3 separate regions of the Homo sapiens genome follow, and all the other regions are linked to region 2. Evidence: promoter capture Hi-C in 16 types of primary human blood cells and fetal thymus (Javierre and others, 2016). All regions are on one chromosome and are shown on one strand. The core of a region is centred on a gene start or on the middle of the fragment in contact, and the rest is flanking DNA. Distances in the headings are between cores, read along the strand shown.

Region 1 (4,013 bases), core at 1,457-3,956, 100 kb before region 2:
TTATCAATTTCTTCTAGATTTTCTAGTTTATTTGCGTAGAGGTGTTTGTAGTATTCTCTGATGGTAGTTTGTATTTCTGTGGGATCGGTGGTGATATCACCTTTATCATTTTTTATTGTGTCTATTTGATTCTTCTCTCTTTTTTTCTTTATTAGTCTTGCTAGCAGTCTATCAATTTTGTTGATCCTTTCAAAAAACCAGCTCCTGGATTCATTGATTTTTTGAAGGGTTTTTTGTGTCTCTATTTCCTTGAGTTCTGCTCTGATTTTAGTTATTTCTTGCCTTCTGCTAGCTTTTGAATGTGTTTGCTCTTGCTTTTCTTGTTCATTTAATTGTGATGTTAGGGTGTCAATTTTGGATCTTTCCTGCTTTCTCTTGTGGGCATTTAGTGCTATAAATTTCCCTCTACACACTGCTTTGAATGTGTCCCAGAGATTCTGGTATGTTGTGTCTTTGTTCCCGTTGGTTTCAAAGAACATCTTTATTTCTGCCTTCATTTCGTTATGTACCCAGTAGTCATTCAGGAGCAGGTTGTTCAGTTTCCATGTAGTTGAGCAGCTTTGAGTGAGATTCTTAATCCTGAGTTCTAGTTTGATTGCACTGTGGTCTGAGAGATAGTTTGTTATAATTTCTGTTATTTTACATTTGCTGAGGAGAGCTTTACTTCCAAGTATGTGGTCAATTTTGGAATAGGTGTGGTGTGGTGCTGAAAAAAATGTATATTCTGTTGATTTGGGGTGGAGAGTTCTGTAGATGTCTATTAGGTCCACTTGGTGCAGAGCTGAGTTCAATTCCTGGGTATCCTTGTTGACTTTCTGTCTCGTTGATCTGTCTAATGTTGACAGTGGGGTGTTAAAGTCTCCCATTATTATTGTGTGGGAGTCTAAGTCTCTTTGTAGGTCACTCAGGACTTGCTTTATGAATCTGGGTGCTCCTGTATTGGGTGCATATATATTTAGGATAGTTAGCTCTTCTTGTTGAATTGATCCCTTTACCATTATGTAATGGCCTTCTTTGTCTCTTTTGATCTTTGTTGGTTGAAAGTCTGTTTTATCAGAGACTAGGATTGCAACCCCTGCCTTTTTTTGTTTTCCATTTGCTTGGTAGATCTTCCTCCATCCTTTTATTTTGAGCCTATGTGTGTCTCTGCACGTGAGATGGGTTTCCTGAATACAGTACACTGATGGGTCTTGACTCTTTATCCAGTTTGCCAGTCTGTGTCTTTTAATTGGAGCATTTAGTCCATTTACATTTAAAGTTAATATTGTTATGTGTGAATTTGATCCTGTCATTATGATGTTAGCTGGTGATTTTGCTCATTAGTTGATGCAGTTTCTTCCTAGTCTCGATGGTCTTTACATTTTGGCATGATTTTGCAGCGGCTGGTACTGGTTGTTCCTTTCCATGTTTAGCGCTTCCTTCAGGAGCTCTTTTAGGGCAGGTCTGGTGGTCACAAAATCTCTCAGCATTTGCTTGTCTGTAAAGTATTTTATTTCTCCTTCACTTATGAAGCTTAGCTTGGCTGGATATGAAATTCTGGGTTGAAAATTCTTTTCTTTAAGAATGTTGAATATTGGCCCCCACTCTCTTCTGGCTTGTAGGGTTTCTGCCAAGAGATCCGCTGTTAGTCTGATGGGCTTCCCTTTGAGGGTAACCTGACCTTTCTCTCTGGCTGCCCTTAACATCTTTTCCTTCATTTCAACTTTGGTGAATCTGACAATTATGTGTCTTGGAGTTGCTCTTCTCGAGGAGTATCTTTGTGGCGTTCTCTGTATTTCCTGAATCTGAACGTTGGCCTGCCTTGCTAGATTGGGGAAGTTCTCCTGGATAATATCCTGCAGAGTGTTTTCCAACTTGGTTCCATTCTCCACATCACTTTCAGGTACACCAATCAGACGTAGATTTGGTCTTTTCACATAGTCCCATATTTCTTGGAGGCTTTCCTCATTTCTTTTTATTCTTTTTTCTCTAAACTTCCCTTCTCGCTTCATTTCATTCATTTCATCTTCCATTGCTGACACCCTTTCTTCCAGTTGATTGCATCGGCTCCTGAGGCTTCTGCATTCTTCACGTAGTTCTCGAGCCTTGGTTTTCAGCTCCATCAGCTCCTTTAAGCACTTCTCTGTATTGGTTATTCTAGTTATACATTCTTCTAAATTTTTTTCAAAGTTTTCAACTTCTTTGCCTTTGGTTTGAATGTCCTCCCGTAGCTCAGAGTAATTTGATCGTCTGAAGCCTTCTTCTCTCAGCTCGTCAAAGTCATTCTCCATCCAGGTTTGTTCCATTGCTGGTGAGGAGCTGCGTTCCTTTGGAGGAGGAGAGGCACTCTGATTTTTAGAGCTTCCAGTTTTTCTGTTCTGTTTTTTCCCCATCTTTGTGGTTTTATCTACTTTTGGTCTTTGATGATGGTGATGTACAGATGGGTTTTTGGTGTGGATGTCCTTTCTGTTTGTTAGTTTTCCTTCTAACAGACAGGACCCTCAGCTGCAGGTCTGTTGGAATACCCTGCCGTGTGAGGTGTCAGTGTGCCCCTGCTGGGGGGTGCCTTCCAGTTAGGCTGCTCGGGTGTCAAGGGTCAGGGACCCACTTGAAAAGGCAGTCTGCTGGTTCTCAGATCTCCAGCTGCGTGCTGGGAGAACCACTGCTCCCTTCAAAGCTGTCAGACAGGGACATTTAAGTCTGCAGAGGTTACTGCTGTCTTTTTGTTTGTCTGTGCCCTGCCCCCAGAGGTGGAGCCTACAGAGGCAGGCAGGCCTCCTTGAGTTGTGGTGGGCTCCACCCAGTTCGAGCTTCCTGGCTGCTTTGTTTACCTAAGCAAGCCTGGGCAATGGCGGGCGCCCCTCCCCCAGCCTCGCTGCCGCCTTGCAGTTTGATCTCAGACTGCTGTGCTAGCAATCAGCGAGATTCCGTGGGCATAGGACCCTCTGAGCCAGGTGTGGGATATAGTCTCGTGGTGCGCCATTTTTTAAGCCGGTCTGAAAAGCGCAATATTCGGGTGGGAGTGACCCGATTTTCCAGGTGCATCCGTCACCCCTTTCTTTGACTCAGAAAGGGAACTCCTTGACCCCTTGCGCTTCCCAGGTGAGGCAATGCCTCGCTCTGCTTTGGCTCGCGCACCCACTGGCCTGCACCCACTGTCTGGCACTCCCTAGTGAGATGAACCCAGTACCTCAGATGGAAATGCAGAAATCACCCGTCTTCTGCGTCAGTCACGCTGGGAGCTGTAGACTGGAGCTGTTCCTATTCAGCCATCTTGGCTCCTGCCCTCAGCAAACCAAAACTTAATAATAATATGATAACTTGATCATGTAAAAGTTTTTTTTTAGGCTGGGTGCAGTGGCTCACACCTGTAATCACAACACTTTGGGAGGCAAAGTCAGGCAGATCATCCGAGGTCAGTTCAAGACCAGCCTGACCAATATGGAGAAACCCCATCTCTACTAAAAATACAAAATTAACTGGGCATGGTGGCGCATGCCTGTAATCCCAGCTACTCGGGAGGCTGAGACAGGAGAATCGCTTGAACCGGGAGGCAAAGGTTGCAGTGAGCTGCGATTGTGCCATTGCACTCCAGCCTAGGCAACAAGAGCAAAACTCCATCTCAAAAAAGAAAAAAAAAAAAAAGTTTTTTAAAATAAATCCTCTCTGTGTGACTTAGACCATTCACGACATGCTTGGACTTTCTGGTTTGGCCTGAACACCCTTCTTTTTTAAACAACCAGTTATTTACTTTACTCCAGGACTAAATTTACCATACAAGATTCTTTCTCATATGAAATTATTTCTTTTTCAGCTTTCTTACCAATAAAAAAACTCTTCATTTTTATAACTTATTTTACATTTCTCTTATTTCATGGTTCCTTTTACCTTGTTTTACACATGACCTTTAAATAAGCTTTGAATTAGATGAAAAGTGTTCACATTTTTTAAAAGGACACACTTTTTTAAAAAGAATGTTTTCTTACAAATATATTTTTATTGGAAAATACCCAAATAATGAAATATCTATTATG
Region 2 (4,204 bases), core at 1,111-3,610:
TGGGTGTCGTGGGAGGTTCTGGCTACTCCCTTCCCCTTCCACATCCAAAGGTGCACTATACTGTCTCCCCAACGTACACACCAGGTCCCCAGTTTCAGGGAAGATAAACTCCCATTCTGGGTTATGGGAATTCAAAAGCAGATACAATACTTATTTTTGTGTCCTAGGCTGAGGATGGGAGGAAGATGGGTGGGAAACATCTTTGCAAGAGAAAGGGAGTCAGAAAGCAGTGAAGGAGGGGCAATGATGGGGATGGGTAAGGCCAGAGAGACTTTGAAGTCTGAGGCAAAGCCGGCATTTGGGTTTCAGGCAAATTCAGATACCTACGGGAGTGTGTGTTTTCTGTCTCAGTAACCATTGGAGGATAGAGTCCCAATACTTCAGCCCCCTTCCCTGGCCAAAAAAAAAAAGGTGTGGGGGAAGAAAAACGAAAGAAATGCCAAGCCCAGAGATTCCTTGTCCTTCCTTCCTTTGGGTCAGACTCCTGCTGCAGCCCCTGGAAAGAACCACCAAGAAGCTGGCCAAATTGATTTTTCTCCATGTCACAGGCCTCTGCTGGCCAACAGAGAGTTGGACTGCAGGAGTTGAGGTTCTAGGCAAAGAGGAAGGGCAGGGTGGATGGGAGAAGGAGGAGGAAAGGAAAGTTCTGCTCAGCAACTGTCTGGTGAGTGGTTAAGGTCACTTAAGACACTATGGGACAAAAGTAAGAGGCTGATAGCCTGGCCAGACAAGACCTAACTATTCAGAACTCAGGGGGTTTCCCACATTGGGGCTACACCTCTAACCTACCTTGAATCTTAAGGGAACTGAAAGAAAAGAGTCCAACATAAGGAATGGGACAGGAAAGCTGTAGGACTATGGAGAAAGGGATAGAGGCTTGGGGAGGAGCCAGGAGAAAGAAAGACAACGAGTTCCGAACTCAGGAACTCTCTAGTCACTTGGTTTGGCACAATTTCTAAGTGTTGCAGCATCCTGCAAGCTCAGGAAACATCCTGGGAAACATCCCATCCTTGGGTCCCCAGGGGCTCCAAGGTGGCATCTTTAGTAAAGGGGTTTCAAAATGCCAGTCCATGGAGGGTCACTGGTCAGAGACAAAAGTTCACTGAGTATGCCCTCACCTCCAAAAGAACAATGGTGAGTTTTTTTTTAATATAAAGATGGATTTGATAAGTTTCAAAGGACTATCTTTTATTCTGAGTGTGTCCTTCTTGCTTTTCTACCAAGTAATGATGGTGACAGTAAATAATAGGTTTTCTATTTGTAATATACTTACTTGATAAAATAAAAAGGCAAATCTTCAAGGTTTGTAGTTGTTTTAATTTTATTGAACGATGAAATTTAAAAGTCTGAGAACGGAAGGTAAGGTTGGTGAATAGGTACAAAAAATTAGAAAGTATAATAAGACCTACTATTTGATGGCACAATAGGGTGACTATAGTCAAGAATAACTCAACTGTACATTTTAAAATAACTTAAAGAGTAATTGGATTATTTGTAACTTAAAGGATAAATGCTTGAGAGGATGGATACCCTCTTCTCCATGATGTGCTTATTTCACATTGCATGCCTGTATCAAAATATCTCATGTGTCCCATAAATACATACACCTACTGTGTACCCACAAAATTGAAAAAATTGAAAAATAAATAAAAGTCTGAGAACTATTAACGAAGTAGTTAAGAGCCCAGAGAGTGTTCAGACAGACATGGAGACACCACTTACCTACTTATGAACTTCAGATAGAATTGCCAGATTTGAAAAACAAAAAACAAAAACAGGATGCCCAGTTAAATGTGAATTTCAGATACTTAATTTTTGGGGGGTTAGTATACCCACACACCACACACCACACACACACACCTACTTATTATCTGAAATTCAAATTATCTGAAAGCCCTTACTTGAGAAGATTGCCTAACTTTTTCATTCCTAACATACACTACGCGTTTACTAAATTTTACTTCTTGTTTTTATTTTGTTTTTATAATACACAGTATCAAGCAAACTTCTTGTTTTTGAAACCCCGGCTGTGTCACAGTATGACTACCTGTATCATTTAATCTAGTCATTTTATTCCTGGGAGCCCCAAACAGGAATTATAAATGTTCTTTCACTGACTTGCTGTAAAAGTGAGAGAAAAGGCTGTATGAAATAGCTCCCCAAGGTTCGTTATTGTCGCTCCCCGCCCAAGCTCCAGTACACCAAAACTACACATCCCACAATCCTAGGCGGCGTCCCCTGGCCATTACCTCATTCCCTGGCCTCGTTCTCCCCAATCCCGGCCTCTCCAGGGGTGTGGCAGCAGGGCTGTTCTCGCGACTTTTGCTTTACCCTTCTGCTGTGCTACTGCTGTCGCGAGACTTCCTGCTCATCTGCCGCTCCCTTTGCCGCCGCCTTAGCCCGGGACCCGAACCCAGCCTCTCCCCTACCCGAACACCGGCCCCGGCTCCACCGAGGCCCGGGTCCCCCAGCCCGTCTCGCCGCCGCCATGGCGGACCCTAAATACGCCGACCTTCCCGGCATTGTGAGTACAGGACCGGCCCCGGCTCCCCAGGACCGCGCCCCCGACCTCCCAAGGACCCCCAGCAGAAACCAGCCCGCGACCCCTCCCGCCTGCAGCCCATCCTCCGCCCAAGGGCTCCCGCCGCTCGTTCTCCGATCGGCCTCAGCACCCCCCGAACTCTTCTGACCCGACTGGGCCGGGCCGCCGGACGGCGCACCAGGCCCCCTTTCCGGCAGTCGCCGGTAGCTCGGCCCAGAAATCGACTCCGGGTACTGACCTCTTGTGCCTGAGTTTTTCCACCATCCGTGTCAACGCCTCCCATGTCCCCCCCAAATCTCTCCATAAGACCCCATCGCTACCCCAGACACACACACCAGACCACTTAACGATGGCCTTCATCCTGCCAAGGAAGAGGTTCTGCCATCTGGCAGAACCCTCTTGTGCCAGATGGGGAGCTCTATCCTTGAGGGAACCTATGCCCTCCCCCAGCCCCCACTCCCATGACAATCCTGGCGTGTACCTTCCTTTTGTGCTGCCCTGCCTGCTTCTCAAGGTGAGGGTTGGGACACAGGACCTTGAGTACTAAGGTCCTGAGTCACTCTCAATCCTTGTGCCAGGGTGGTGGTGTACGGGGCCTAATTGGAGGATAGCCTTCACCTTCTTTGGCAATAGTGATTGCCAAGGACCTGCCCGCCTCTAGATTTAGGGTAACATCGTTGCTATCACTTACACTCACCGTTTACTGTCAGGTCCCAATTGTTTCCGCTGTCATCCCTACCCCTTGAGACATGGGAACTGACATACTGTTGACTCACGGGGCAGGTGGAGGAGAAAGGACAGAACCCTGACATCACACCCCGCCTTCTCTGTTAGCTTATTCAAATGGAGTGGGGGAAGGGGTGTTGTTGGATGCTGGGTAGTGAGGTTGGGTGGTCACTGCTTCTACCTGCAGGCCAGGAATGAGCCAGATGTTTATGAAACTAGCGACCTACCTGAGGATGATCAAGCGGAGTTCGATGCGGTAAGAATGTGTGCTGCCACAGACTCCTCCGGACTCTGACCTTTCTCCCCTAGACAGGTCCTTCCCTTTCTCGGGGGAGCTACAGCAATAAGCGGGTATGCCAACCCCAGCCTGGGTGGTATATAGGTTGCAGGGCTTGCAAAGACCTTGCTGGGCTTGCAGCCACCAATGAGCAATGGCAGGAGGGAGAGTCAAGTCAGCGGAATTACAGCTAACAACATCTGTTTGCAAAGCCCTGATTCTTGGGCCTTTTAAATAAAATTGAAATATCTCAAAACAGGTTTGGAGCTAGTGACTTAGGCCCCTGGGTTCTAACCCATGGAAATGAATCATGAAGCCTGGGCACTTGTAATAAACTGCTACCAAGAACTAGACTTTGAAATATGGAGAAATACTTTTTCCATATGAATATCCAGTATCCATTGGGCAAGGAATTAAGAAAGTGATTCCAAGATTTTAGAGCAAAACAAATTTGAGGAAGAATGTAAATATTTCACATCAGCGGATGTGAGACTGTGGTTGCATTTTTAGATCCGAGAATTCTGAGGATGGAGTAATTAGGTACGGATACATTTTAACTGTGAGGGGAAACATTTAGTATGGTTTATTGAGTGTGTTCATTCTGTGGTTTTTTTTGTGCAATGCAGAGGAAGAAATGTCTCTGCCCCCAATGAGCCCCA
Region 3 (4,199 bases), core at 125-2,624, 82 kb before region 2:
GCCCCTCAGGAGCATCTTGGTGCCAGGTAGGGAGGAGGGTCCCAGAGGATGACCTCAGCCACAGTGGGGGTGGCAGAGCCCAAGGTTGGGTGGGGAAGAATGGGAGATGATTGGAATGGGAGGTGGGAACCTCTGATGAATGGGGGACTTAAGCTCAAACGGCGGCTTAGGAGGTGGGAAGTGAGGACAGAAGGGACTCTAGGAATTTCAGAAGACTGTAACTGGGGAGTTTTGGGGGAAATAATCTATTCTTTGCTGACTAACCATTGGTTAGGTGGTGGTCAGGGCAGGCCATAGGGCAAGCTTTGACGGGACGGGCTCAAAAATCAGTCACTGTAGGCTATGTTATACAGTGTGCCCTGCTGAGGCCTCAATAAGAAGAATAGGTGGAAAGTTCTCTATTGTGTGTGGTGACAGCAGGGAGAGAAAATGAGAAAGAATTCAGGGCTGCCTATGTGATTCTGATCCCCCCACTCCTTTCTCCTAGGGCTGAGCCTTCAGGCAGCTTCTGGTCAGGAGGTATACCAGGTGAGAGAAAACAAGAAGGCAAGGAGGCCAAGTAGGCATCAAGAATGCTGGGAGGGAGGCAGGGCTACTAAGGGAAGGATGGGCGAATCAGGGAGGCAAGAAGTGGGTCTGGGGCCTAACCCTGCACTCTCCAATCCCCTCCTAGGTGAACCTGACTGCCTCCCTAGGCACCTGGGACGTGGCAGGGGAAGTGACTGGAGTTACTCTCACTGGAGAGGGTCAGGCAGATCTCACCCTTGTCAGCCCAGGGCTGGACCAACTCAACAGGCAACTACAACTGGTCACTTACAGCAGCCGAAGCTACCAGACCAACACAGCAGACACAGGTGCAAGGCCTGGGTGGAGAGACGGGCAGGCTGGGCAAACAGAGAAGAACCAGAAAGGCTGGAGTGGGCAAATGGCAGAGGGCATGGGAGGCATCTGGGCTATGGCCAGAGCTGTCCAGCCACACAATGGGTGCTTCAACTGGACCAGCAGGGCCAGAGGGAGAAAGGGGGCCTTTGTTCATCTGGGGCTGGAGCAGGCCAGAGGGAAACCCGAGCCTTGGGTGTGTCTCCCCTTTAGGCCAACTGTGGGGGGCCCCAGGAAGAGACTTGTCTAAGGAGTTAGAAGACTATATTCCCAACCCACCCCTTACTAGAGGGCAAAGGTCTTTACTTTCCTGAGATCCCATTTCTCTTCCAGCAAAAGAGGCCTAAAAGCCCTCTTTGCTTCTCCCCAAAGCTGGTTTGTTGCACTAAGTTTGCTTCCACCTTAGGGCCTTTGCACTTTCTATTTTCTCAGCCTGGAATGCTCTTCCCCAGATTTTTGCAGACTGGCTTCTTCTTGTCATTTAGATCTCAGTTCAAATGCCTCCTCTTCACTATCACATTACTTGTTTGTCTTATTTTCCACTCAATACTTACCAGTATCTGAATTTTTTAATTTACTTAGCCTGGCACCAGACTGACTAGGTTGCTATCAGTTTTGTTGCTTAATAGTTGTGTAAATGTGGCAAGTTACTTTTCTGTGTCTCAGCTTTTTTTTCTGTTGTAGGAATCTACTTAATAGGGCTATCATGGGGATAAAATGAGTGCATATATTTAAGGTAATTTTTTAACGGGTCTGGCACATAGTAAGTGCTCAATAAAGATTAGCTTTTACTTAAAATTTTCTTTGTTGTTTTTTCTCCTACCCATTAGAATGTAAGTTCCATAAAGGTAAGAACCTTCTGTTCTTGTCCACCAAGGCCTAGAAAGGTGGGACACAGAGTAGGCACTTAAATATTGATTGGCTGAAAACAGAATGTTATCCCACCCTTCAGGGTCAAATGCCATGTCCTTTCTTCCCAGTCCGGTTCTCCACCGAGGGACATGAGGCTGCTTTCACTATCCGCATAAGACACCCGCCCAACCCTCGGCTGTACCCACCTGGGTCTCTACCCCAGGGAGGTGAGGCTGGTAGGGGCAGGGACATATTAGAACCAGCCTTGGTGGGGAGCAAGTTGGGAGAGGGCAGTCCTGGGAGGGGATATCTACCTGTTCCCCTCTCCCAACCCTCCTTGTCTGCACCCAACCCTGTGCCCCCAATCTCAGCCCAGTACAACATCAGCGCTCTAGTCACGATTGCCACCAAGACCTTCCTCCGTTATGATCGGCTACGGGCTCTCATCACCAGTATCCGCCGCTTCTACCCAACGGTTACCGTGGTCATCGCTGACGACAGCGACAAGCCAGAGCGCGTTAGTGGCCCCTACGTGGAACACTATCTCATGCCCTTCGGCAAGGTGTGCAGCTAGCAGGCTGAACGGCAGGCCAGAGGACTCCCGCAGGGGGTGTGCCCTCAATCTGCAGCCTCCAGGGTAGTGATTCGAGGACCACCTGCCTCAGAATCATGGGGTGCCTGTTAAGCATGAGGATTCCTGGAATGTAAGCTTCGTGGGAGCAGGAAATTCTCTCTGAATTCTTAGAATGGTGCTTAGTGCCTAATGGCATTCAATAAAATAGCTGATGAATGAATAAATAAATGCACACGGAAATTAAACGCATTCTAAGACCACTGACTTGGAACCTCTGTGGGGATCTGCATTTCTTTTACCTAGCTCCTGGCCTTTCGAAAGCACTCAAAAGTCTGGAGAAGAATACAAGCTGAGAAGGGTCGGGGGAGAGAAAGAAAGGTGGCAGAGGGCCATGTCCTATTTCTGCAGCCTCCCCAACCACACACACCTTTCTGCCAGGGCTGGTTCGCAGGCCGGAACCTGGCCGTGTCTCAAGTAACCACCAAGTACGTGCTGTGGGTGGACGACGACTTCGTCTTCACGGCGCGGACGCGGCTGGAGAGGCTTGTGGACGTGCTGGAGCGGACGCCGCTGGACCTGGTAGGGCAGGGGCTGCAGGATGTGGGGGTGGAGAAGGGCCTTGAACAGGCTAAGGCCACAGCGGGGGCGCTGCGGCCAGGAACGGCCAGCCCTAGGACAAAGAGAGAACCACGAAGTGGGGCCTGGGAACTGTCTGGGTCCTGCAGGGGTGAAGCGGAAGAGGATGGGGCAGGGGTACCCCCGAAGGCACCGGAGCGCAGACCTTGACCCCTTCGGGTCCCCTATCCCAGGCCCGCCTGGAGGCAACCTCCCTCTCCCTGCAGGTGGGGGGCGCGGTGCGCGAGATCTCCGGCTTTGCCACCACTTATCGGCAGCTGCTGAGCGTGGAGCCCGGCGCCCCAGGCCTCGGGAACTGCCTCCGGCAAAGGCGCGGCTTCCACCACGAGCTCGTCGGCTTCCCAGGCTGCGTGGTCACCGACGGCGTGGTTAACTTCTTCCTGGCGCGGACTGACAAGGTGCGCGAGGTCGGTTTCGACCCCCGCCTCAGCCGCGTGGCTCATCTGGGTGAGTGGCACCCCCTCCCGGTCGACCCTGGCAGGAGCCCCACGGGGAGCTGGCGCACGGTCACGCGCCTCTCCTCCTAGGCTGCACCCGCGCCCAGCCGCCAGCGGGAACCCCAGAACAGTTCTGCAGTGATTTACCAAGACCTGCACCTGGGCGAGAGACAGCTCCCACCCTCTCCCAGCCCCGCATACTCTTTTTTTTTTTTTATAAATATATATATTTTTTGTTATACTTTAAGTTCTAGGGTACATGTGCACAACGTGCAGGTTTGTTACATGTGTATACATGTGCCATGTTGAATCTCCATTCCCAGCACAGCCGCTGGGCCCCCATAAGCTTCCCCATCACTGTTCCCGCCACCCCTGCTCTACTCCCAGGGCTTCCCCTAGTTCAGACCACAGTCGGTGCAACCCATCTGGCGTTTATTTAACCTCTGGGAGTAGGGGTAGGTTTTTCGATTTTCAAAGCACAAGTATATTGACTCCATTTACACAAGAGTAAGACTGAGACCCAGGGAGTTGATTTACATGCTCAGGGTCCTTAGAAACAAGCCTTTGCACACACACTTTCCACACCCTAAATTTGAGAGTTCTCCCTTACCAGTCGGCCTTCTGCACCCTCAGGATCCCTCACTGTGTACTCCCCTCCACCCCCAGAATTCTTCTTGGATGGGCTTGGTTCCCTTCGGGTTGGCTCCTGCTCCGACGTCGTGGTGGATCATGCATCCAAACTGAAGCTGCCTTGGACATCAAGGGATGCCGGAGCAGAGACTTACGCCCGGTACCGTTACCCAGGATCACTGGACGAGAGC

The links. The method cuts DNA at HindIII sites, captures the fragments that hold promoters and counts their contacts. A CHiCAGO score of 5 or more calls a contact.
Region 1: a contact is called between a fragment that was not itself captured here and the fragment with the promoter of DCTN2 in region 2, in 1 of 17 cell types (M2 macrophages). The highest score is 5.9, in M2 macrophages.
Region 3: a contact is called between a fragment that was not itself captured here and the fragment with the promoter of DCTN2 in region 2, in 9 of 17 cell types (erythroblasts, M2 macrophages, M0 macrophages and 6 more). The highest score is 8.2, in erythroblasts.

What each region holds. Positions count from the first base shown.
Region 1 is chr12:57,645,733-57,649,745 of GRCh38, reverse strand. No RefSeq gene overlaps it. Among named protein-coding and RNA genes, the nearest start is that of B4GALNT1, 15 kb to the right of the region's middle. The HindIII fragment of the contact is 2,383 bases long and covers 1,515-3,897 here.
Region 2 is chr12:57,545,348-57,549,551 of GRCh38, reverse strand. It overlaps DCTN2 (dynactin subunit 2), which reads left to right and starts at 2,360. Exons shown (of 14, transcript NM_001261413.2): 1 at 2,360-2,524; 2 at 3,456-3,524. The coding sequence starts at 2,489. RefSeq lists an enhancer at 2,092-2,231. The HindIII fragment of the contact is 9,827 bases long and covers 1-4,204 here.
Region 3 is chr12:57,626,807-57,631,005 of GRCh38, reverse strand. B4GALNT1 (beta-1,4-N-acetyl-galactosaminyltransferase 1) reads left to right here. Exons shown (of 11, transcript NM_001478.5): 4 at 1-26; 5 at 488-528; 6 at 674-854; 7 at 1,860-1,958; 8 at 2,103-2,293; 9 at 2,744-2,884; 10 at 3,148-3,388; 11 at 4,045-4,199. Among named protein-coding and RNA genes, the nearest start is that of B4GALNT1, 4.3 kb to the left of the region's middle. The HindIII fragment of the contact is 2,137 bases long and covers 306-2,442 here.